5 separate regions of the Homo sapiens genome follow, and regions 1, 2, 3 and 4 are each linked to region 5. Evidence: promoter capture Hi-C in 16 types of primary human blood cells and fetal thymus (Javierre and others, 2016). All regions are on one chromosome and are shown on one strand. The core of a region is centred on a gene start or on the middle of the fragment in contact, and the rest is flanking DNA. Distances in the headings are between cores, read along the strand shown.

Region 1 (4,954 bases), core at 2,094-4,593, 700 kb after region 5:
AACTTGCCTGATGAGGGGCTTTACTTGGCTGCCTTCCCATCTCAGTCTTACTGCCCCACTCCTCACCAGTGCTTCCTGCAATCACCTCCCAAAAACTACAGTAGTCCCCTCGTATCTACAGTTTTGCTTACCAAAGTTTCAGTTACCCGCAGTCAATCCAGTCCAAAACTATCACATCACTATTCTTGTGCTTTGGGGCCAGTCTTAAGTAAAATAAAGGGGACTTGGACACAAGCAATACCATGACAATTTGATAACTGAGAGGGTGTATTAGTCTGTTTTCACTCTGCTATAAAGAACTGCTCGTGACTGGGTAATTTATAAAGGAAAGAGGTTTAATTGACTCACAGTTCAGCATGCCTGGGGAGGCCTCAGGAAACTTACAATCATGCAATCATGGCAGAAGGCCAAGGGGAAGCAAGGCACCTTCATAAGGCTGCAGGGAGGAGACGCACCAAGGAAGGGATAAGAGCCCCCTTATAAAACCATCAGATCTTGTGAGAACTCACTCACTATGAGGAGAACAGCATGGGGGAGACTGCCCCCATGATCCAATTACCTCTGCCTGGTCTCTCCCTTGACACATGGGGGGTTATGGGGATTACAATTCAAGATGAGATTTGGGTGGGGACACAAAGCCCAATCATATCAGAGGGCTACTAGGTGACTCAAGGTGAGCAGTGCCACAATGTGGAGATGCTGGACACAGGGAAGACTCATGTCCTGGGTGGGATGGTGCGATATTTTGTCATAGTACTCAGAACTGAGCCCTATTCAAAACTTATGCATTGTCTATTTCCGGAATTTTACATTTACATCACAATGCCTACATCATTCACCTCACTTCATCTCATCACGTAGGCATTTTATCATCTCACATCATCATAAGAAGGGCGAATACTGTACAATAAGATATTTTGAGAGAAAGACTACATTCACATAACTTTTATTATAGTATATTTTTATACTTGTTCTATTTTATTATTAGTTATTATTGTTAATCTCTTACTGTGCCTAATTTATAAATTAACCTTTATCATGTATAGGTATCTATAGAAAAAAACATTTTATATATATATATATATATATATATATATATATATATATATATATATATATATGTATAGGATTCTGTACTCTCTGCAGGTTTCAGGCATTCACCAGGGAACGTATCACCCATAGATAAGGGGGCTGCCATATTTGCACTTGGATTCTTGCCTCAGGGTCTGCTTCTGGGAGAAATGTGAGCTGGAACATCCTCCTGTCATCTCTGGCACTCCCTGTGTTCCCCACATGCCCATGGGCATGAGCCTTGGAGCAAACTTTCCTATCTACTATTATGGCTTCATACCTTGAAATCTGCTCACTTTGGTAATAATGGGAGAAAGCAGATAGGGCCCAGCATTTCCTTGCTGTTCGTTGTCAGCCAAGATTGTTCGCTCCTGTTTGCTTATTATCTCATTTTTACACCCTACTTTAGCTTCTCCCACAATAAACACACACAGGCTTCCTTCTAGAAGCTATCCCAATGTTGGTCTATGGTAAGCTTCAAGTTTTTCTTGCTATTTTGCTTCTTTCTCATTTTTTAACCCATCTCTCTCTCTCTCTGTTTAAAAGAGATTGGTTCACGACCTCTGGAACAATTCAAACCCATCACGTGACCTCCTTCTTCTACTCCCAAGCCAAGTGCAGGCAAATGGCTCTCCTAAGGAATCTTCAGTCATCACTTGCCCCCATTGCAACTCTGTCAAATCAGAAACTGACCTTCCTGAGTCAGCCCCTTTCAAAGCTATTATTATTTATCTTTCTGGTCTCCAAATGCCCTCAATCTAGTTGACATCATTTTAATGCAGACAGGCTTGAACTATACCCAGGGTGGCTCGGCATCCATTGACTTGCATCCTGTCATTTCCAGCAGTGACAGGACCCCTAAGTCAGCTTTGCCCCGAAGTGAGGTCGATGACCTCAGTAATTATTGCTTCACTCCTGGGTGTCTCTCGCTGTGTGTGGCCATTAATTCCTGGCTGATAGTAATGCTTGTTCAGTGTGATTTAAAAAACAAAACCTAATACAAATAACTATTCCTGTTGCTGGTAATTGGATCAAACTTCCTCAATGTTATCCCTAACAGAACCCAACTCTCTGGAGAAACCCTTGATTGGGATTTGGAAGATTGAAAGGTCAGTGTTCAACTCTGTCCCTACCTCTCCAGGTCTTCCTTTTTGCCTATCCCATAAGTTTCTAAATGACTTTGAGGTTGGTGGGTGCGGGGAAGCCATGAAGGTCAATGCAAATCTCCTGGGCTTTGAAATCCTGACATCCGGGTTATATCTCAGTTCTATCATTTGCTCGGCATGTGGCCCCTAAACAAGTTAACCACCACTCTGAGCCTCAGTTTCCTCAAGTGTAAAATAGGAAAGATAAAATCTACCTGCACATTAAAAGTGACACAGTGTATCTAATTCATGGGTCAATTATGGAGAGGAGTGTGTTGAAATATTTCACTATGATGGTGGATTGGTTGATTTCTTCTTGAAGTTCTGATAATGTATACGGAGAACTTAGCACAGGGCAGGCATGGTCGGCACTAAATAAACACACACATTTAACCGGCGGAAAGCTAACGTAGGGTGATAGATACAACATTTTATTTTTCACAGCCATAAAAAAGAAAGAAATCATGTCCTTTGCAGCAACATGGATGCAGCTGGAGGCCATTATCCTAAGCGAATTAACACAGGAACAGAAAACCAAATATTGCATATTCTGACTTACAAGCGGGAGCTAAACACTGGGTACTCGTGGACATAAAGTTGGCAACAATAGACAGTGGGGACTACTAAAGGGAAGAGGCGGAAGGAGGGAAAGGCAGAAAAACTAACTGCAGGGTACTATGCTCAGTACCAGGATGATAGATCATTCGTACTTCAAACCTCGGCATCATGCAATACACCCATGTAACAAACCAGCACGTGTACCTCGTGAATCTAAAATAAAAGTTGAAAAAAAGTCATATGTGCTATGTTTGAATTCCAGCTTATGCATCTATTAGCTGTGTGAGCTTTGAAAAAAAAAAAAAAAACACTTAAATGAGTACTAGTTCTTCATTTGTAGAATGGTGGTAACAATTCTAGATATATGGTGGGCATTCAGCATTTCCTATTTTTCCTGTATTTCTTTTCAACTACTTCAAAGTTGAGGTAGTCAATAGTGTGGACTCAGTATAATCGATTAGGGCGAAATGTGTTTGTCATTTGTTGTTGCTTTGTTATTATTTTGCCCCATGTCTTCTAATGTTAAACTTTCCAATTAAACAAAATATGGCAAAGCCTGAGACCACGCTTAGTTAACAAAAAGGTAAAATCTAAAGGTCTTACTGTCCTGTATGCCCCAGGTGGGGATTAAGCCACATATAAAAGTGTGAACCTTATCTCCTAAGATTCAATAAATGTATTTTATTTTGTTAGAAAGCAATTTCCTTCAGGCTTAGGTCAGAATTTCTCTGAAATAAAATGGCAACATATCACTACTTTGTCACAATTCTCAGTAAATCATTAGAGCTGTGAAAAATAAATTTCATTTTTAACAAAACATCTTTCTAGATCAGGGTCAGCAAACTATATGGCCCGTGGGCTAAATCTAGTACACTGCCTATTTTTGTATTTTTTACATTTTAAAATGTCCTTTTAGAAAAATTAAAAGAAGAAGAATATTTTACAACACAAGAAAATGATGTGAAATTCACATTTCTGTGCCCATAAATAAAATTTTATTGGAACTCAGCCACACCTATTCATTTATGTATTATCTTTGACTGCCTTCATGCTACGAGAATCGAATAGTTGCAGCAGAGACCATATGGGCCACAAAGCCTAAAATATTTTCTACCTGGCCCTTTATATAAAAAGTTTTCCATCTTCTGATCTAGATTCGAGATCGATGGTTTATTTAAACTATGTTAACTCTAAAAAACTGCCTCCAAGTTACCTCAAGTAAGAGGGATTTATCATCAGGCTCCAGGTTTCCACAGAAAGAGCTGGGGCAATCCTAGAGCAAGGTGCTGGCGTGCAGTAGGCTGCCGTCCTTGAGCGGATGCCTCACTGACAGCGACGGAGTTCCAGCCATGCTGCACTTGCTCCAGCCACTGACTTAGAGACAGCAACCTGTACAGGCACCAAGCAAAAGAAGAAATCTGGAGATCTCAATGAGACCAGGAAAATCTCTCTTCAATATTTCAAACCTTTCAAAAGCCAGGTTGGTTTTCATTTCCTTATCTTCCTACTGTTGACTGAGTTCTAGCTACGAGGTGCTGTGCTGAACACTTAGATCCATTGTGTCCTTGACTCTTCTTAAGAGTTCTGTGAGGTCAGTGTGATTATCTCCATTTGACGGCTGAATAATCTGAGACTGAGAGAAATTAAACAATATGTCTGCTTTCGTTTGTCCCCTCCAAAACTCATGTTGAAGTTTGATTCTCAGTGTGGCAGTATTGGGAGGTGGGGGCTAGTGGAGATGTTTGGATCATGGGGGCAGATTTCTCATGAATAGATTAGGGCCCTTCTTCTGGGCTGAGTTCTCGCTCTCAGGAATGGATTAGTTCTGGAGAGAGCAGGTTGCTAAGAAGAATCTGGCTTCTTCAGTCAGCGCTCTTGCTTCCTATCTCTCCATGTGATCTCTGCACAGACCCACTGCCCTTCTACTTTCCACCATGAGTTGAAGCAGCCTGATGCCCTCAGCAGATGCAGCTGCCCAATCTTGAACCTTCCAGCCACCAAAATTATAAGCCAAATAAATCTTTTCTGTATAAACTACCCAGTCTCAAGTATTCTGTTATAGCAACACCAAACAAAGTAAGACAATGTCCAAGGCCACCCACCTACAAAGTGTGGATTTGAGGTTTTAAACTCAATTTTTCTGACTTCAAGAGCCCCTGGTTCTACTCATTATACTCTAC
Region 2 (5,077 bases), core at 2,523-5,022, 660 kb after region 5:
CAGCTCACACACAGACAACACTTTCATATCAAAACTTGTAGGATGCAGGTAGGCAGTTTCTTAGAGGCAAAGTTACAGTTCAAAATGATAAAAATTTTAAAATAAGCTAATAAACCCAAAGAAAGAATTAGGGATTATTGTTTATTCCCTAATTATTTGGTTTATTCTGCTATACTTTTTTTCCTCCAATTAAGAAATAGCAGAATAAACCCAAATAAAGAATTAAGGCATAAACAATAAATATGAGTAGAAGTGTGTGAAATAGATCACAAGCCTTCAGTAGAAAGGATCAACAAAGCCAAAGATTTGGCTCTTTGAAAATACTGAAAATTACTGATTAAAAGCTTTATGCCAATAATTTGGAATCTTGAATAAATGCACCAATGTTTAGAAAAAAATGTGATTACTTAAATGAGTTGATGAATAAACTTCATATTTTAATAGCTCTAGAAACATTAAATAAATTGAATCACTAGTTTAAAATGTACCCCCCACCACATAAATTCTTTAGTTTTATAAGTAAGTTCTCCCAAACTTTAAATAAATAATTTCAATTTTACAAAATTATTTTACAGTATAGAAGAAGGACTAATTAATTCTAAGCTCATTTTATGAGACTAGTACAATCTTAACACCAAAATCTAATTAAGGACCGTTTGGAAAAATCACAAGCCAACTTCACTCATGATTATAAATGAAAAAATTGAACAAAATATTAACAAACTGCATCTATTAGTGAAAGAAAAAGAGAATAAATGATGACAAAGTTGAGTTTCTGCCAGATATGCAAGATTGGTTTATCATTAGAATATCAGTTAATTTAATTCATCACATTAACAAATTTAAAAGAGAAAAGTTATCCAATCATCTCTAGATGCAGAAAAAGAGTCACATAAAACCTGGAATCCATTTATGGTAAAAATTAAAGAAGACATTCTTACCCAGATAAAAAGCGTCTACAAAAAAAGCTAAAGAAATATCATAATTAACATGAAATGCTGAAAATATTTCTTTTAAGGTAAGAAATAAACTAAGGGTGTTCACAGTAACTACTTCTATTTGGTAGTACTTGGATATTCTAGCTTCCACAGACGGGAGAAAATGTATAAGCAATGGAAAGGAAGAAAGAAAACTGTTTCTACTTGTAGACAAATATGATTGCCTACATTGAAAATTCAAAAGAATCTACCAAAAAAGTATCATAATTAAAAATGGGGCTTAAGAAGTTTGCTCAAGAAAAGAAATTTTAAAAAATGAAAAATATTTCTAGACAAATACTTAGAAAACGCAACTAAAAAGATATCATTTACGTTTGCATCAAATAATATAAAATGTTAGCTGTGTTCATTGGCACACACCAACATTCCTGTAGTTCCAGCTACTAGGGAGGGATGAGGCAGGAGAATCACTTGAGTCTAAGAGTTCGAGGCCAGCCTCTGCAACATAGGAAGACCCTGTCTCTAAAAATAATAATAATGTAAAGAGTCTAGAAAAAAATTTTATGATGAGAGATTGTTTTATGGATAAAAATTATCAAACTTTATTAAAATATATTAAAGTAGAGCTAAATAGTTAGAGAAATATGACATTCATGTTTTGGAAGACTCCATAGCAAAGATGTTCATTTTCCCCAGATTTATCTATGGAGTCAATACAATCTCTATCAAAATTTTACAATGGAGTGTTTTGGCTTTGAGTTCTTGATTTTGGTTTGTTGGTTTGTTTATTTAATGTGTCAAGCTGAATCTAAAGTGTAATTGGACTACTAAGGGCTAATAACAGCCAACTATTTCTGAAAAAAAAACAATAAAAGTAGGGGATCATAGCCCCTTATTCCACTTTCCTTCAAGGCAAGATTGTACTTTCCTGATTTCTTGTAATTTGGTATTACTATGTACTTTTGGCAAATGAATATAAGCAAAAATCAGCAGGTGTTTTGTTTTGGACTTAACTGTTGGGTGTTCAATGAGAAGAGCTTCTACACAGGACTTACAGAAAAAGAGCAAAGCCCAAATATTAAGCAACTAAAACTCATGTTTCAAAGAGATCATACACCTCTGAGTGGAAATTGTAAAATTCCCTGTATGGTTTGCCATACTGTCTCTTTCTCCAAGGCAAATGGCAATGTTTCAGATAATGCCTGCTCCACAAGCTTGGATCCAGAGTGATAAGAAGGAATGACAGAGCTTCCAGTTTATTCACAATGGATGTGAAGCATGACTAAGAAATAAATTTCTGTTGTGTTAAGCCACTAATAATTTTGTGGAGGTTTTGTTGCCACAACATAATGTAGCCTATTCTGATTTTTTATCTTGTCTTGCCAGATGTCAAGACTTAACTTATTGTCTTTAAGATGGCATAGCATTAGCAAAACGATAAGTGAGTAGTCCAATGGGACAGACTAGAGTTCAGATCCAGAACCACATATGCAAAAACTTGATTTATGACAGGTTGGTATAGATGATCTGTAAAAAAAAGGTGGACTTTTCAATAAATGTTACAACAGTTATCTATAAGTAAACGTTTAAATTGGACTGCTACCTCATACCTCCTCTGCAGTCTTTTGTTAAGAACAGTTGGAAAACAAGTGGTTGTTTCCCTAATTTAAGGGCACCAAGAACAGTGCCCAGTACATAGTAGGTCCACAATATGTGTCCCCTGATTGAGGAATGTTAGCTGCTTCTATTTTACAGCAAATTCATTTCTCAGTTCCATTCCTCCTTCCTTCCCTTTTTTGAAGTAATGGTGGAGACAAAATGAAAATTTCCATCAAGAAGCCCTGTCAAGAGAGAGCTAGCCTGAGTGCCTTTCCAGGAAAGTCCTGGAATTGTCTTAAGAGAGAAGAAACTCTTAGGAAGGAAATATGGAAACTACCAAAGAGGGAGGTCATTATCACAATTGTGCTTTAGGTGGTATCATTCATATCCTATCTTCACGAAAGGAAACAAGTGGTCAGAAATGGAGATTTGTATTGGAGACACCACTCAGTAACCCACATGAGTAATAATTTCTATCACAGTGGCCCTTGATGACACAAGGAAATATTTTGAGTGATTAATATTGGTCATGTAGCATACAAGATGGTGTCTTTCAGCTCAATCCAAAAGACAGTCAGTCACTCTCAGGTTCATGCGGGATTTAGATATGTAGCATGTCCTGATTCTTTAACCAAGCTCAATGAGGTGAAACTAGAGCAACATTTAGTCTAGGGCTAATTTTGCCCCACTACTAAAGCTCAACCCTTCTAAGTACTCTTGATGCTCTATAGATTATGATGTTTTTTCTCTATGACTGAAGGAACAGGAGTTCCTAGTATTATTTTCTATATTCCTTCCAGATTGTTCGTTCCCCAGTTTCTGATCATTTCCGCAAATGCATGAACTGATCAGTACTCACCTGAAGTTGTGGGAAGGTGGGACCCTCTGCAGCTCCCTGGCCTTCTCTCTGTGTGTGGAACTATCCTCCGTGACACTGTGTCCTGTGAATTCTAGCTGCCTCAGCCTCTCTGGACATTCACATTCCTCTTTTCAACTCATGGTGGTTCCTGGGCTCTGCCTGGGTTTCCCTTCCCCACAGTGTAACTGGAAACTCTATTAAGGAAGTAAGCTAGGGCCATCATAGTGCTCACCTCATTCGTTTTCTGCCTGTTGGGCATCATTGCTCCTCATTTCCTGGTGTCTGGTGTCTTGAACACTGTTATTTAATACATTGTATTCGGATTTTTTAATTGTTTCATGCATAAAGGTAAGTCTGGTCCCTGTTACTCCTACTTGGTTGGAAGTGGGTGTCAGACCACTAATTTTTGTCTGACGAATATACTTATATTCCTTTTACATTTAATGCATTTTGATTCATTTTTTTCACAACTTGATTCCAATCTGTGTATGTAGATTCACATAAATTTTCTGAACTGTCCAAAGTCTGCTCAAATATGCAAGATTGGTTTATCATTAGAATATCAGTTAATTTAATCCATCACATTAACAAATTTAAAAGGGCAAAATTATCCAATCATCTGTAGATGAAGAAAAAGAGTCACATAAAACCTAAAATCCATTTATGGTAAAAATTAAAGACGACATCCTTAACCAGATAAAAAGCATCTACAAAAAAAACTAAAGAAATACAATAATTAACATGAAATGCTGAAAACATTTCTTTTAAGGTAAGAAATAAGCTAAGGGTGTTCACAGTAACTACTTCTATTTGGTAGTACTTGGATGTTCTTGGTATCTATGAATTACCACAGTTCAAGGATAATCTGTAGTTTATCTAGTCATCATTATTGGATTTCAGAGTTATTTTCTAGAAAAGTTATATCCAGTTTTATAATTAGCATTAAAAATTCACAGGCTGACTGATTGCCTCCTTTTTGCTTTCTAAGATGGACATTTATGTCCTATTGGACTAAATTTCTTCCCTTTCCTTCAGTAATAGCAAAGAGTAACTTCTTATAGGAACACTGCCACACCAATGAGCTCCACCTCCCTTTGACTTGGGGCTGCTGTGCTTTCTGCTTATCAGCTCTGAGCAACATCTTAGATTATCCCCATAGATGGTGGAGCCCAGAGTAAGTTAAATTCTGTATTCTCCACTCACTGCTACCACCACCTACCCCAGTCACTCCAGAATTTTAGGTTTCAGAGCAACTTTAGAAGAGAGAAACTCACAAAGTTGTATTATAGTCTCAAAGTTCCACCAGCTGCTGGCAAGATCGTCATTTCCTCCCCCACTGCCTCCTGAGTCACTGTACCATTCTAGTTCCTCCAGGGAACTAGACCCTTTCTCCACCTCCACCTTTGGCATAGGGTTAGGGATTGTACCCCCATTGCCTTATCCTACAAGTGGCTCTGAAGAAATGGATCTTATTCATTCTCTCCGTAAAATTGTCTGTTTGCTTAGCAACAACAACAACAAAAAATTATATGGGGCCAAATGATAACATAAACGGCCCATTTTCTAGCTGGGCCCCTTTACTGCTGCCTTATTAGAGGAGTACGGAGGGTCTGGGTAGGGGCGACAATGTGACTGTGTGCAGGTAGGGGAGTGTGCTGATGAGTGTGGTTATCGATAGCAA
Region 3 (4,899 bases), core at 463-2,962, 540 kb after region 5:
AGCACATTCCTTTGAAAGAAACCGAAGATTGTTATCTTTGGCAATCCTGATTAGATTTCTTCCTCAGACAACAGTTTATTAAGTTTGTGCTATGAATGTGGGCAGGTGGTTTGACTCGGTGGAGCAAGTAGTGGGCACTCTAGAATTCTTTTTCTCCAAGTACTCAAAGGCCTTTGGAAGAATTTCCTCTCTGAGCATTTAGATGTTCCTTCTACTCTGTGAGGTGAAAGTGTGTTATGTGGTTTTATTTTTCACTTATTGAATGCCAATTACATGCCAGCCCCAGGGTTGTCTTACATGTGTTATCATATCTCATTTAATCTGAAAAAGGATTATGGCATAGGCACATAATATTATCTTCATCTTTCAGATAAAGAGGCATAAGTTCAGGTAAATACATATCCCAGTAGTTACACAGCTAGTGCCTAATGATAGCAGGATTTACCAGATCTGTCTGCCTTTTTCAAATATAACACCTTGCCTGGGAATGAGCTAGCAGAAGACTTTTAGAAGATGAGACTGGAGAAGTGGCTTCAAATTTCATTCTAATCAAGACACTAAGCTTTGCATTTATTTATTCCTTCATTACCATTTATTGGGCACCTAATGTGTGTCAAACAATCTAGGAATTGGCGACATTACAATGAATAAAAAGCATAGATCCCTGTCTTCCAGAAGTTTACTTCTGGTTATTGGAGGTTTTGAGCCAAGAAATGACATGATCTGGCTTAGCTTTTACAAAGACCCTCCTGGCTACAGTGTGAAGCATCACCTGAAGAGAGGTGAGGGCTTCAGCAGCAAGCCCAGTTAGGAGGCCACTGCAGCAATCCAGACAACTGCGGGGCTTGGACCACAGTAGTGGCCAAGATGAGAATTTGGATTTTATATGGACTTAGATGGAAACACCAATGGGATTGCTGAGGAACTGAATGTAGAAATTGCTTGTCCATGTTTTAACTGCAACTATGGTCAGCCTGCATCCTAAACCTATGCTTTTTAAGTTATGTTAACATGCTGAAGTACAAAGTGACTTCACAACTATATTCAATTTCATGAAAAACTGTAGCTCCTCCTTTTCAGCTCCTTAGGCTTAGGAAAGGAGAGTGCCTCTTGGAGCCTGGAAGAGGCAGGAGAGAGCTCTGTGTCCCAGAAGCATTTGTCATCCAGGCTGCAGTTAGCCAGCTGGCTCCTTCAAAAGCCACACACCTGGGTGGCAGCACATATGTGGTTATACCTGAGATATGTGGTGTGTCCATCTCAGAGCCACTCAAAGTCCATTTTAACCCTTCCCTATGGCTCCCCATGAGGAGGTGGGAAAACGAATCCTCTTAATAAGATTTAAGCACAGCTTCACATTTTTCTGTCTTTGTTATTTCTCAGAAATGCCATTATCAGTCTGAGTCAGAACAGATATTAATTCTTGGTCACAAAGTAGCACTTTTGGCATACTCTCACCATTTTTTTAACTTCAGAAACAGCTTCCTTGTAGGTAACTTTCACTGAGCTGACATTGTCAGCCAAAAATGGTTCTGGAGCCACTTCATCTGCCATAAAATTTAATAAGTCCAGGATACAAATTTGTGTATCACAAGTCAATAAAATTGCCACCAAGCTGTTTGTGTAGTAATAAGGTCAATAAATGTCATCCTCATTCAATTAATTTTCATTGACCTTAAGGAAATGACCTTCTATTTCCAAGTAGGAGAAGAAATTGGCCATGGAGAAGCATAACTGTTGCATCTGCTTTTCAGTTATTACATTACTGAAGATAGCATGGGCATCTAGCTATGCTTGTATATTCAGACTAAAAAGTAATCTACATGGCTTATCCTGAAGTAGACCCAAATGATTTAATTACAATTAAGATCATTGAAAGACCCCACAATATGCTTGGGGTCATCCTAACTGCATCTTCCAGATATGATCTAATATCTCACTGATCTTGGCCATCCATTGGGTTCTGCTGGGCAGGATATCAAGTTAAGGATGTGATGAGAGGCTCTCACTTTCTGGCCTGCAAACTGCATTTGTCACAACCCCTTTCTCCATTAACCTGGCCTGGAGATCAGCCCTGAAGTTGCTCCTTTGCTGTGCTGGCCATACCCTGAAGGAGACAACCACACCAGTGAGAGTTGAATGCCTCTGATTTCCTCCTTCCTCCACAAGGCAGATGAGGGACCCTGCCATTTTTTTATAAAATTCAAAATCAACTAAAGTATCACTTTTTTATTTTATTATTTTCCCAGGGCTGCGTCCAAAGAGGACTCTGCGGCTGGTGCTCTGGACTGCAGAAGAACAAGGTGGAGTTGGTGCCTTCCAGTATTATCAGTTACACAAGGTAAAAACCCAGCTGTGGATTGCTAAGCATTTGTACATGTAATATACAAAAATCCCTCTCATTGTCCATTTAAGACTTCAATAATACTTTCTGGTCAACTGGCCCTAGGAAACACCCTTGTATGAGCCTTCTCCCTCCAGCCCTGTGAATGAGAATGCACTGGTAAACCAATGATGCTGTGGTGTAGAGCTGAGGGCTTTTCTTCTTCTACACCACAGTCTGAGGCCAAAGAAAAATTCCAATTGCCATGCTGCCATTTTTTTCAAGTCTACCTAGTTCTGCTGTATTCATGTATGTCAGAGAAATAGTTATAGGCAAACATTCCCTCTCCCCACCGAGCCTATCCCCATACCTCAATGCCCGCCATATTCCCAGAAGCCTTGGCATTTGAGAGCCAGGTTCCAAGTCATTGAGTCTGCCAAGAGCATTGCCATGATGGTGGTGGAAATGGCAGCAGCCACAGGCCTCTGTCCCAGGAATGTGGAGGACAGCTTGGTTTGACACCAGCTGTCATTACACAAGTGTGAAGCTTGAAGCAGGAAGGTTATTGTGGATGGTCATGATTAGAAATACAAGACCACATGGAAGAGAGGGGATAGGGAGATTAATATCAAGAGCAAATTTTGAGACAGCAAAATATACAAGCTGAGAAATACTCTAGATCAAGTCAAATGTTAGTTCAAAGAGGAACTCCAAAATCAACGCGCATATGCTGGCAAGCAGTGATGGTTGCCCAGAGAGGAGCATTTGGTCTGCTGCTGCTGCTGGATGGTTTCCCCTGAATGTCCAGATGAGAAGAAGCAGATCTTGCAAGCTTAAATTATCCAAATCGGAGAAGGGTTTCTTTTGTGAATTGTGTGTATGTTATTTTTGACCTTTTTTTTTTTTCAAAGTCAGTCTCTATTACCCTATTTCAGTCAGTTAGAGTATAATGAGTTCAAAGTCATGAATTTGGTCACTGAATACAATTATTTACTGTACAAAGGACAACTTATGACCTATGCCCTACTCTTTCACCACTTTAGTTCTTTTGGCCTCAGGTGATCCTGGGGATAACATAATTCAAGACAAGTGTCCTTTGGTTGGTAGGTCAGTAACATCATTTTCTATGTGTTGTGGTAGACCACAACATCATATAAGGGTTGTTCTAGATTCAGCAACATTCAATTAATATTTTCTGAACATGTACTATGTTCCATACACTATGTTATGCATTAATGTTAGCATCAAAAAGATCTACCCTGACCTTACAAAGCCTACATTCTAAAGGACACTGACGATTAACTTGAATTATAAGGTGTTAAGTCTTTCTGGGAAAGAAATTACATCTAAGCTGAGACCTGAAGACTGAGTGGAAGTAAGCTAAGGAAAATGGAGAGGGAGGGAGGAGGTGGGTACTGCACCTTGGCAGAGGGACCTGTGTGTGCAAAGGCAGGAGATGAGACAGAGGAAAGCACACCAGAGAAATGGAAAGGAATTCAGAGTGGCTGCTGCATAGAATGCAAGATGCACAGTGGTAGGAGGGTGGAACAGAGACGTAAACAAGAGCCTGAACAAGAAGAACATATGAATCATATTTAGACGTGCGGACTTTATCCTCGAGGCAAGAGAGTAACTTATTTTTAAGAAGAAGCTCTAAAATTCTATACATATTGGACTTTATATAAAAAAAAGAATAGTTAAAAGAACTATTCTTTTTTTTTTTTTTTTGAGATGGAGTCTCACTTTGTTGCCCAGGCTGGAGTGGAGTGGCACCATCTTGGCTCACTGCAACCTCCGCCTCCTGGGTTCAAGTGATTCTCCTGCCTCAGCCTCCCAAGTAGCTGGGACTCCAGGCGTGTGCCACCACGCCCAGCTAATTTTTTGTACTTTTAGTGGAGATGGGGTTTCACCGTGTTAGCCAGGACAGTCTCGATCTCCTGACCTTGTGATCTGCCCGCCTCGGCCTCCCAAAGTGCTGGGATTACAGGTGTGAGCCACCGTGCCCTCTTTTATTCTCAGTAATACACTCTACTCCAAGAAAAATATTGGATTTAAATTGCAATTGATCTGGCTAAAAATTTTATCATCACTGAAATTCCTAGAATGTGAAAAAAGAAGGTTTATTTTTCTGTAATGTGAGTTTCACTGTAGCCTATCAAAGCACATGGATGAAATCGGAAATGCCTAAAATTCTGAGGTTGGCAGAAATACACACACTCAAAGGACATGCAATCACATAAACAGAACTACTTTATCTTGACAGCATCCAGGCTGCCTCCATACAAATGTAGCTTCATGTTGGTGGCTAGTCTGCATTGCATTTTCAGAGATAGAAAGAAGAAATTCCAGAAAGGGAAAACATTGGCATTTTGTTTTACAGTAACTCTTTACCTCGCCTTTAAAAAGACATTGTGCATGCTTTACATGATACAGCCAATTTCAAAGGACTTATTCTGGATTCTTATGATTAGCATATTGATATTGACATTACTAAGACTATAATCATTTCAAAAGTGGCTGAGTTTAACTTAAAAGTTAATATAATAAGCAAGTCACAAACCACAAGGGTAAATTAGATT
Region 4 (5,402 bases), core at 1,553-4,052, 640 kb after region 5:
GTAAATACATATATGTAATTTATATTTATTTTCCCCCAATACTCCTCATACCTAGAGACCATGAACTACATACAGAGGGAAGGCACACTTTCTACCTGAAGGCCAGCCCTTATATTGGTGATCAGTTTGTTCAGTGCTCTTAATCATTAGAGTAATTGTGTATAAAATCATGAATGGGGACTTTGTGAGTCACTTAACATTTGCAAGAAGCATATGAACGTGATTGTTCTTTTAGAGTTTGTTAGGTGGGTGGTGGTAAAGTAATACAATTTTCTAAATGGTAAAATCATGAATCTCATGCATGTCAAAAAATTTATTCAATTCATTAATTAATGAGAATATCAGTAAGATGTTACACCATTTTAAAGAGCATTTGAGAAACCAAGTCTGTGCAACTTAATAAATATATATTAGGATAAAATTGCTGGGTTAGATAAAAACTGGTTAATGTCTTAGAAGCCAATAAACTGTAACATTTGAGATATCTGTTCTATGGGACAAAATTCATTTTCATCTCTTTTAGACATCTTTAAGTTGACATGTAACTTCACTAAATCTGGGACCTTTAATCAACAGTAAGCAGTGAGTCAAAATAAGTACATTCTAATAAATAATCTTTGGGTGGACTTGGCCCCTGAATGACATTGAAAGAATGTACTGCCTACCTTTTTGCTTTATTTTTAAGTCATGAATAATTTTTATAAGAGTGGTGAAAGGTATAAGAACATACTGAGTTCTACATAATAGTGTTTGGATCTCAACTTGTATACTGCTATATGTTCACATGGTTTTGGTAAGGAGAACTGACTTGTCATTCTCCAAGGCAGAAGCTGAGAGTAGAACTCCCAGAAAGTGGGATTTACTTACCATAAGTTGCTGTAGAAAAGGAGGATGGAGTCAATCTTTATTTCTGCTTTTGTCCCACTACATGTTAAGAATTTTTTCATTTACCCATTCAGTGATTCAACAAATATCTGTTAAGCATCCACTAAGTGCCAGGCATTGAGGATTGGGGTGAAAAAGCCCCTGCTCTTAAGGAGCTTACATTCTAGCAGAAAAGACAGACAACAATAATAAAACCATGATAATATTGTTTCAACTGGTAGATAGTGCTATGAAAAAGAAAAAGAAGCAGCAGCATGAAGGTAAGGGAGATAATGAGTGACCACATGGAGGGGTGGACTTTAGACTGAACGATCAGGGAGTCCCAGGAGGACTGGCAGGCCTGCAGAGTGTGGCCCGGCCACAGCGATGGGCTTGGTGTCAGGTAGGGCTGCCATTCATCTTCTGCCCACTGTATGAATGTAATTCAAGTCTTTACTCTATTTCATGGTCCAGGATACCTCCGACCCAAGTTTCCATCTCTTTGTCATAAAGTAGAATAGGGGTGGGAGATCAGAGCTGCAAATGAAGCAAGTCATGCAAATGGTTTCCCACTGGAGAAAAGGCACATTTTTTCCCGAGATAGGGCAGTGAAGAAGGTACAGAGCATGGATTTCAGATCAGAGACACCTGGGTTTGAATTCTATTTCTACCACTTACTACTGTATGACATCAGACAAGTTACTAAAATCTATTTTCCATCTGTTAAAGACACATGAAGATCTCTCCCTCATAGGGCCAATTCAATGAAATCATCTCCAGAAAGCCCTCAGTACACAGAAAGCACTCAACAAGCAGTGACTATTATTCTTGTAATTCCCCTATTTGGGGAGTCTGTAGCATCATCTTCATGTAGTACTGATTAACTAGTCTTAGTTATTGCTGCCACACAGTTTTACCACCTTACAGAGATGACTCATTATCACACAGTTCAGATACTGTGGGACCTGCAAGTCCACCAGAGGTGTTGGTGTTGACCTAAACTATTTGGTCAAAATTATGCCCATAGCCAAGCCAAGGTTTCCAAAGAGATAGAAGGTACATGGGCTTAGTGGCGCACCTAAAACTTTTTAGCCCAAGTTTGGAGATTCTTGGGTAGCTTGAGAGTTAGAAACTAAAAGTAGAATACTTTTAATGGATTTGTGATTGAGGATTTTTTTTGTTTTTACTTTCTGGTCCTGTCCTGTCCTTTGTTTTCCTTTCATTTTTTCCCCCTCTTATGAGTTGAGTTGCTTTCTCTTCTAGGGAGCTATGTGTTAGGAAGCTGCTAATGAACTGCTTTTGAGTCTAATTTTCAATAAGATTTAATACAGTAGGGATTAAACTGCCCCCTTGAAAAGAGAGATTAAGTGTCTGCAAATCCCATGAATTGATTTTCTAATTGTTTTGGTAATAATGTGTATGTGTTTTTCATTTGCTAATGTTGCTGAAAATAATAATAATTTTAATTAAATTTTAAATGTATTTTTAGTATTTTAAGGATTCTAGAGGGACTAAGTTTTCTTGCAAGGAATATGTTAAGACCATAACATTCTTCCCTCACCCCATAATTATTATGATCAGGGAATATCTATAATATATTCCATGGCAATTAAATTGCATACCCCAGACTGTTCAAGATGTGTTTATAAAAGGAGAAATGGATTTCCCACAGCTGCTCGCCTGTGAATGCATCCTTCACACAGAACCACAGTAGCCAGTATATGCACTAAAATAACAGACTTGAATTTAAACTTTCAGTGCTTTCAAACGTCTTTCAAAAACTTCTCATAACACAAATTGCTTAATTTGTGTACATGAAAACTCACTGATTACATATGAATGAGAGTCAACCTATAATAATGGTGACTTTGAGAATCTTTGTGTATGTGCCCACCCATCTCTTCAGGAATTAGCAGGTATTCAGTCTTGTTCCAACATTCTGCACAAGCCACAGTCATTAGTGAGAGCACCCTGTGAAGGCTGAAATCTGCTGTGAACAGTATGGGGCAGCTCAGGTATTTTTTATAATATTCATCAGATGGTCTTCACCCAGTCACGTAGCTGGAAAATGTTTTCTGTGAGATGAGTGTTTACAAAAAAAAAAGATTCATAGAGAAGGAGCAAGGGAAGGAGGAAGAGGGAAAATAATCCAAACCAGGGTCAAGGCAGTCATATAGACTAGAATCACAGACCAGGTGTTCCGTCTTTAAAAAGCGATCGTCACAACTTTGATTTATTAAATTGGAATTTAAATCTTCCAAGCTGTAATGAATTGATCATGATACTGTTGATATAGATTGGCTCATCTTTGTGGCTGTATAACAACTATAATAAAGAATTAATTGAGTACCTATTAATCCTCACAAGCATCTTGGAAGTTGGATATCATTAGCCCTGTTTGCTGATTGAGGAAACTAAAGTTGAATGGCTTTACATCATTCTTTCAAAGTCACCCAGGTTTTAAGCAGAAGAATTTGAATTTGAACCCAGCCCTACCTGCCTCTAAACCCCATATTCTCTCAGCTGTATCTCCCTCCTAGGTGCAATGGCTCCTTGGCTGACATGCTGAAGGATATGTCTTCACATTCTTAAACTCCAAACCTCCCTTGGAAATAATTTCCTAACAGTGAAACTGCCCTAATAATGCTGTAGTTTGTTTCCAGGGGAGAATATTTGCCTTCAGAGCAGGCTCCTTCTGCCAGCTTTCCATTTCATAAATGCATTTTATGACTCCCTCTTCAGAGCTCATATACCTGTCAGAAGATCCTATGCAATTTATCCCTGGGGATAGTTAACATTCCCCCTGACCCACCCACCCTGCAATGTCAGGTGCTCTCAGAAATGGAAGTGCAGGATCTCCCTCAGTGCCCATCTTTTAGATCAGTAGCTGTCACTGATAAAATGTCTCCTTGGAACTACAGAGACAAAGTTGCAAGCCAGCCAGCGGGCCCACCCTGGTATCTCCTGCAGTTATCAGCATTCTCACTAGTGATTGATAGAACACGTTTTGGAGTTGTTTTAGTTTTGTAGAATGTTCATGGGAACTTAGATGATATCTGAGGAAATGCCTTCTTCAAGTCACTAGTTCTAAAGGAAGGCAGCCAAATTCCTTCAGTCTGAGAATTTTGGAGCTCTGAAGAGGGCATGGACAAATATTTCTTGCCTCTCTTTTTTAAATATGGAATTTGGAGGCTTTGTCTGTCGACCACCATGCCGTGTCTTTAAGAAGCTCTGACTGGGAAGGAAACAGCCCCAAGTGTTCCAAGCTCTGTCTGCTGGAATTAAATGTCCCTTCCTGTTTCCTGACATCCACAATTCTAATTCATCCTCCATTCACCCTCAGTGACTTCTGTTCTTTGAAGGTTTTGACTCTGTCCTTGTACATGAATTTGACATTCACCTGATACTCTGTGGGGTCCAGAGAGCATGTACTCCCCACCAGCTTCAACTAACTCTAAAATGTCACAGTTTCTGTTAAAGTGCTTTCTAGCTACTACCAGAGTAAACATACAGATTTGTCTCCCCTGGGTGTGCTGTGAGTTCATGGCATAAAGTATTTTCTGGTTTTAAAATGGACTTCTGGCCTGTAATCCCAGCACTTTGGGAGGCCGAGGCGGGCGGATCATGAGGTCAGGAAATCGAGACCATCGTGGTTAACACGGTGAAACTCCTTCTCTACTAAAAATACAAAAAATTAGCTGGGCGTGGTGGCAGGCGCCTGTAGTCCCGGGAGGCGGAGCTTGCAGTGAGCCAAGTTCACGCCACTGCACTCCAGCCTGGGCGAAGAGCAAGACTCCGTCTCAAAAAAAAAAAAGGACTTCTGGCTTTTCTACTGGGAAATGTGGTTATCTGTGCCTTCTGGAGGTCAAGATGTCATCATCTGGCCCTGGTCCCTCTCACTTCTCCTCAGACTGGACCTCTTCTCCAGCTGTTTACTCACCTTCGTAGTTGTTCACACAATTTCTCCTTCATGTTTTTTGGAGCATCTCCCTAAGGTGCATCTCTAGTCACCCCACCTTCTCATTCATCCTCCCAACCACCATGGCTCCACATTTATGAACTACATTCAGTCTATTTTCAGCCTGACATTTAGGACCTTCCACAGGTAGTTGCCAACTTTATCTGCCAATAATTAGCCCAAGTTACCCCCCAGTGTCAACCAAACTGGAACGCTCACATGTTCTGTTCATCTGGAATACCTGTGCCTATATCTGTCTGTTGACATCCTAAGTACTCCACCCCAGAGCAAGGGGTTTATGGGAGTAGATAGGGGAAAACTCTGGTACAAAGTTGTAAGAACGTGGGTTGGGCTTGGAGAAAATCTAGATGGCATCCTGGGGCAATGGAGGGCTCAAGAACAATGGCAATGTCCAGTCCACAAGACAGGAGGTAGGGGATTTGAAGAGGGAAATCCTAGCAATGTGGTTACCAGAAACACATAGAAACATACCTCCCCTTCCCTAAAATAGTTATTGGATATAATAATAATTGCCTTTTAATAATACATGACTTAGCAAGAGGCAAAATAAGGGAATTCC
Region 5 (5,094 bases), core at 636-3,135:
CTCTATAAAAAACACAAAAATTAGCTGGTGTGGTGGCCTGTGCCTGTAGTCCCAGCTACTTGGTAAGCTGAGGTGGGAGGACTGCTTGAGCCTGAGAGGTAGAGGCTACAGTGCAGGCCACTGCACTCCAGCCTGGGCAAGAATGAGACCCTGTCTCAAAAAAAAAAAAAAAAAAAAAAAAGGCTGTGGTTCATTCTTTCAAAAGCTAAGTGGAGCCCACATTGGCACAGATGCCAGCTACAGTGTCTGTGGAATCAGAAGCATCATCTGATGTTACAACTTCTGGCCTATTGCTCTTTTTCTTCTTTCTCCTTTGCCTACTCTTCTATTTCTCCATATTACCTTTTTGTTGGCCAATGCCTTAGACTTGCTCATGAGCATTTGTAGGTTTGGTAGCTGGCACACAAAACCAAAGGAATAAGTGTCTCCAAGTTTGAGTTGTAATTCTCCAGTTAAATTTCTTTCTTTGAGATTTATTACAGTAATAGGTTACTAAGACATTTAATTCTCACTGAGGGTATGACTGTATTTTATTCTAATACTGAGTTGAAAAATTACCATGGCCTCATATCTATATATCTACATTGGTGTATTTTAAAGGCTCACAACTCTTATACGGTATAAATTGAGCTTTAGAGCAAAATTTATTCAAGATAATATTTATCATGTGTCTTTATGTACCAGGAATGAGAATACAATGGTGAACAGACAGAAAAGTCTCTGGTTTCCTGTAGTGGGCATTCCAGGAGCAGAATGGCGTCATAATTCATTTACTCTATAAGTCAGAGAGAAAAATGATGGCACGAACTGCAAGGGATTTGTGTGTAAAATTTGTGACAGTAAGAAAAAGAAACTGGAAGGGAATACGCATTTGCCATGTTCTATAATATGCCACAGACATTGTAACAAAATATTTCATGTCAGCTACTTCCATTTAGGAAATACATGTTCATTATTTTCTTCAAACTAAGAATTACTTTATCCCTCTTTTCTTTGAAGTTATCTTAAATCTGTTATTATTCAGGGTCTCTATCCAACTTCTCATCAAATTACCCTATTTGTAGCTTCCAAACGTTAACACCTATCTGCTAAAATGGAGCCTATAAAAAGCCTTAGTGGCATAAACTGTGTGTGAGGGAGAAATGGTATTTAAGCCCTTAATGAAGTTAGGAGCTTTCAAACTGTTGCACTTTGGGTTTACAGGATCCTTCCTCCATGTCCCTTTTTTGGGGGTGCGGAAGGATTTGGGAGAATGGGAAACACTCTCACTATATATTTATTACATTAATTATCTTCTCTTTTAAAATGCAATTTTCATGAACTGGCGATTTATGAACACTTCACATTGCTTGAAAGCATCTTACACTTTTTTTTTCCCTCAACTCACAAAGCAGTTTCTTTCTACTGGTCGAATTCTCAAGGCAGAAAAGCTACATACGTCTCTCGTTTCTTCACTAATTGTTCTCTAGAAAAGGGAAAGTGAAGAAGGGAAAGAGAAAAGACAACGGGGAAGAAAAGAGCATAGAGGAGAGAGGAAAAGTGGGGAGAGAAAGGAAGAAAAGGACTGAGAAAACGCAGGAGCCCTGGCTTGCCGGTGAGCAGAGCCGGCGCAGCCACAGCGCGGAGCCGCGGCGCCCACTGGTCCTCGGAGCTGCCAATCGGCGTGTAATCCTGTAGGAATTTCTCCCGGGTTTATCTGGGAGTCACACTGCCGCCTCCTCTCCCCAGTCGCCCAGGGGAGCCCGGAGAAGCAGGCTCAGGAGGGAGGGAGCCAGAGGAAAAGAAGAGGAGGAGAAGGAGGAGGACCCGGGGAGGGAGGCGCGGCGCGGGAGGAGGAGGGGCGCAGCCGCGGAGCCAGTGGCCCCGCTTGGACGCGCTGCTCTCCAGATACCCCCGGAGCTCCAGCCGCGCGGATCGCGCGCTCCCGCCGCTCTGCCCCTAAACTTCTGCCGTAGCTCCCTTTCAAGCCAGCGAATTTATTCCTTAAAACCAGAAACTGAACCTCGGCACGGGAAAGGAGTCCGCGGAGGAGCAAAACCACAGCAGAGCAAGAAGAGCTTCAGAGAGCAGCCTTCCCGGAGCACCAACTCCGTGTCGGGAGTGCAGAAACCAACAAGTGAGAGGGCGCCGCGTTCCCGGGGCGCAGCTGCGGGCGGCGGGAGCAGGCGCAGGAGGAGGAAGCGAGCGCCCCCGAGCCCCGAGCCCGAGTCCCCGAGCCTGAGCCGCAATCGCTGCGGTACTCTGCTCCGGATTCGTGTGCGCGGGCTGCGCCGAGCGCTGGGCAGGAGGCTTCGTTTTGCCCTGGTTGCAAGCAGCGGCTGGGAGCAGCCGGTCCCTGGGGAATATGCGGCGCGCGTGGATCCTGCTCACCTTGGGCTTGGTGGCCTGCGTGTCGGCGGAGTCGGTGAGTGGGCCAGGCGGAGGATGCGCGCGCCGTTTAGGGTGTTTGAAGCTACGAGAGGAGCCCGCAGGGAATAGGGGAGCGCCACCTGGGGAACCCCCAGTCCCCAAGTATACACCGGAGATCCGCTGGGACAAATGCGCTCGTCCGGTCACCCTTTCCCCCTCTTCCCTTCCTCAGAAAAGCGCTGCTCGCTGGCGTTACCCCGCGGTCCGCGGGAATGGGGGCACCGAGAATTGCGGTTTGGTCTAGCCGCAGAGGCCCCTGAAGTCACTCCCAACTTCTTCGCCCTCGGCGGGTCTTGCTGCGTGGTCTGGGAAGGACGGAGGGGAAAGGGTGGCAGGAGGGGGGAGCCTGGGTCGGGCCCGCGAGGGAACGGCTCCACTCCGCGCGCTCCTCGAGACCAGGGATGACCTGGAAACTTCGGGGTCCCTTCCTCCGCACACCATCCCCCCCGCGCCAGCTTTCCTGTTTGACTGCATGCAAGTTCTGGGGAGATGGGGGCCAGATTTAAGAGACCCGCGAGTGTCCAGAGAGAAAAGTTTGCAAAAGTTCTTTTGTTTGATGCTCCCTGCGGCTAGGGCGAGGTAACCGACACTACGTGGAATCGCAGTAGGCGATCCCTCAAGGGGATACTGGGGGAGGCACGGAACGCGTCCGAAAATGCTGGGACGCCGGCCACTGGATTCCCAGTCCTGCGGCGACCCCCTCCTCGTTGAGGGGTGGAGGTTGCACCGCGGGGCGTCAGGGACGGGAGGACATTTTCATAGGAGTTACACGGGAGTGCCGCAAGCAGGGCGAGGCGGGGTACGTGTGACACGGCGCTCGGCTTCGGGTCGCCTGGCCGCTGGGGGACAGAGGCTTCCCTCCCGCCACGCTCGCCCTCTCTGGCCCTGGCGGGGCGCTTCTGGGGCCGGGAGGAGTCTCGTCTCCGGCGGAGCGCCTGCCGGCACCCAGCTTCCCTCCCCCGCCCTGGCGGTGGGAACTTGATTTCTCCTTTTGGTCGCGCTTCGGGGGCTGGAGCTTGTTTCCCCACGTCGCCCAATGAGCGCCCTCTAAAGGGAACTGCCTCCTTGGCCTCCTCTCGTCCGCAGCTGCCTCCACCTGGGCGCCAGGAGCTCTGTCGGGCCAGGTGGAAGCTTGAGCACCCCAGATTTCGTCTGCAGCCTCAGTGCCCTCTGGGGTCTCAGGGAGTGCGGCTGTTTCTGGCCCTTCTGGTTCCCCACGTCCTCTCCCTTTGCCATTTAATAACGTGTCAATTTCTAATTAATTGAATGGTCTTTTCAAAGACAAATTATATCATCTTAAGGTCTTTTAGGTAGTTTTATGAGTTTGAGTCTCCCTCCCCCCCTTTTTTGTGCTGAGGCTAATTTAGGACTGGGAAACCTCTTTGGCATCGAGCGGCAGATGGACATTTTTAATCAGTGTGGGAGCCTCTGTGTGTGCTAGCAGATCCCCATACGTTCTTTGTGGTTGGAGAGCATGTAGAATTGGAAACTGTACAGACTACATGAGTATTTTGGGTGCTCAGGTTGTAAAATAGAACTCCCAGCCTTATCAGTGTTTCCCTTTGGCAAATGATGGTTTAATCCGTTGGTATTAGTTATCTCCCAGCCAGTTAGGATGAACTTTGGCTCTTTGTACACCAAAAGGCAGCAGTTCTCTTGTTTATTTCAGATGAGCGTTGTTGCTCCTCTTGTTGCAAAACAGGGCAAAGGGACTTCATCTAATAAATTTCAAGAGCCTGCCTAAAAAACTGCACATGGTTAAGGAGGCCCTTTTTTTTTGCTGAGTCTTATTCATGGATTTGCTAGGAAATGTTACTGTTTTGGGATTCTGGAGAAAGAATGTTTCTGTCTTCTGCTCCTCTGGGTTTTTGCATAAATCTACCAGTGCTCCTTAAGGAAGTTTTTTGGCCGAACTATATACCTGTCCTCCCCGGTGACAGCTTTCCCCTGAACTGTGTATCTTTGGGGTTCTAATATTTCTCAATTTGAACCAGAACTGGATGCTTTCCGAGTGAACTGCTTCATTGTGATAGACACTGTTTTCAGTAATTGGAAAATCATCCAAAAAGGGTGATTAGATATTTATAAAATGTCAACTTAGAGACTAGCAGAGAATCTTTGTTAGGCAGTGAGTCAGTCTTTCTAAATAGAAGCTGTTTCAAGGCCCAGAATGGCTAACAGTCCATTTAAATTACTTTTCAGTCTCCGTTTGTTTCATGTATAGCAGCAAAAATATAAATGAAGTCAAAAGACTGAATTTAAAAAAAAATTAGCAATTACAGAATATTATTTCCAGGACTTTGCATTTTAATTTGAAAACTGCAACTGTTTCCTGGGATTTAGAAGTAGTGATTTGGGTTTAAAGTCTCCCTTTAAAGGAAGAAAGGAAAACTGCCTACAGTTAGTGAATTCTTAAGTTTTATACTTAGCTCTGGGGGTAAAAAAGAGGTTCTCAGGAACTAAGGCTCAAAACTGCCTATGAAAAGGAACTGGTAGCTGTTCCTTTATGGATCCTGGAGGCAGCTGGGAAAGCCTGTTCCTAGTGATCCATTCATACTTTCCACTGGCAGGTTAGGACTTTGGCTGCGGAGCACCAGGCAAGGGGAAAATCTGACTGAGTGTGGCAGTAGTGATATGCTGCTGGTTTTCTGTCCATTTTGTACATGACTGTTTATCTTTAGAAAT

Evidence for each region. The method cuts DNA at HindIII sites, captures the fragments that hold promoters and counts their contacts. A CHiCAGO score of 5 or more calls a contact.
Region 1: a fragment that was not itself captured here is called in contact with the fragment with the promoter of SDC2 in region 5 in 1 of 17 cell types (neutrophils); the score reaches 5.3 in neutrophils.
Region 2: a fragment that was not itself captured here is called in contact with the fragment with the promoter of SDC2 in region 5 in 1 of 17 cell types (neutrophils); the score reaches 5.6 in neutrophils.
Region 3: a fragment that was not itself captured here is called in contact with the fragment with the promoter of SDC2 in region 5 in 1 of 17 cell types (neutrophils); the score reaches 5.0 in neutrophils.
Region 4: a contact is called between a fragment that was not itself captured here and the fragment with the promoter of SDC2 in region 5, in 1 of 17 cell types (neutrophils). The highest score is 7.4, in neutrophils.

What each region holds. Positions count from the first base shown.
Region 1 is chr8:97,188,954-97,193,907 of GRCh38, forward strand. The region is part of intron 2 of LOC101927066 (a long non-coding RNA gene); the gene reads right to left. Among named protein-coding and RNA genes, the nearest start is that of TSPYL5, 86 kb to the right of the region's middle. The HindIII fragment of the contact is 3,598 bases long and covers 1,545-4,954 here.
Region 2 is chr8:97,150,804-97,155,880 of GRCh38, forward strand. The region is part of intron 2 of LOC101927066 (a long non-coding RNA gene); the gene reads right to left. All of the region lies in intron 1 of LOC105375655 (a long non-coding RNA gene), which reads left to right. Among named protein-coding and RNA genes, the nearest start is that of TSPYL5, 120 kb to the right of the region's middle. The HindIII fragment of the contact is 3,245 bases long and covers 2,151-5,077 here.
Region 3 is chr8:97,027,157-97,032,055 of GRCh38, forward strand. CPQ (carboxypeptidase Q) reads left to right here. Exons shown (of 8, transcript NM_016134.4): 6 at 2,247-2,338. All of the region lies in intron 2 of LOC101927066 (a long non-coding RNA gene), which reads right to left. Among named protein-coding and RNA genes, the nearest start is that of TSPYL5, 250 kb to the right of the region's middle. The HindIII fragment of the contact is 2,305 bases long and covers 561-2,865 here.
Region 4 is chr8:97,133,222-97,138,623 of GRCh38, forward strand. The region is part of intron 7 of CPQ (carboxypeptidase Q); the gene reads left to right. All of the region lies in intron 2 of LOC101927066 (a long non-coding RNA gene), which reads right to left. Among named protein-coding and RNA genes, the nearest start is that of TSPYL5, 140 kb to the right of the region's middle. The HindIII fragment of the contact is 6,767 bases long and covers 1-5,402 here.
Region 5 is chr8:96,491,928-96,497,021 of GRCh38, forward strand. It overlaps SDC2 (syndecan 2), which reads left to right and starts at 1,886. Exons shown (of 5, transcript NM_002998.4): 1 at 1,886-2,404. The coding sequence starts at 2,345. The HindIII fragment of the contact is 13,490 bases long and covers 1-3,538 here.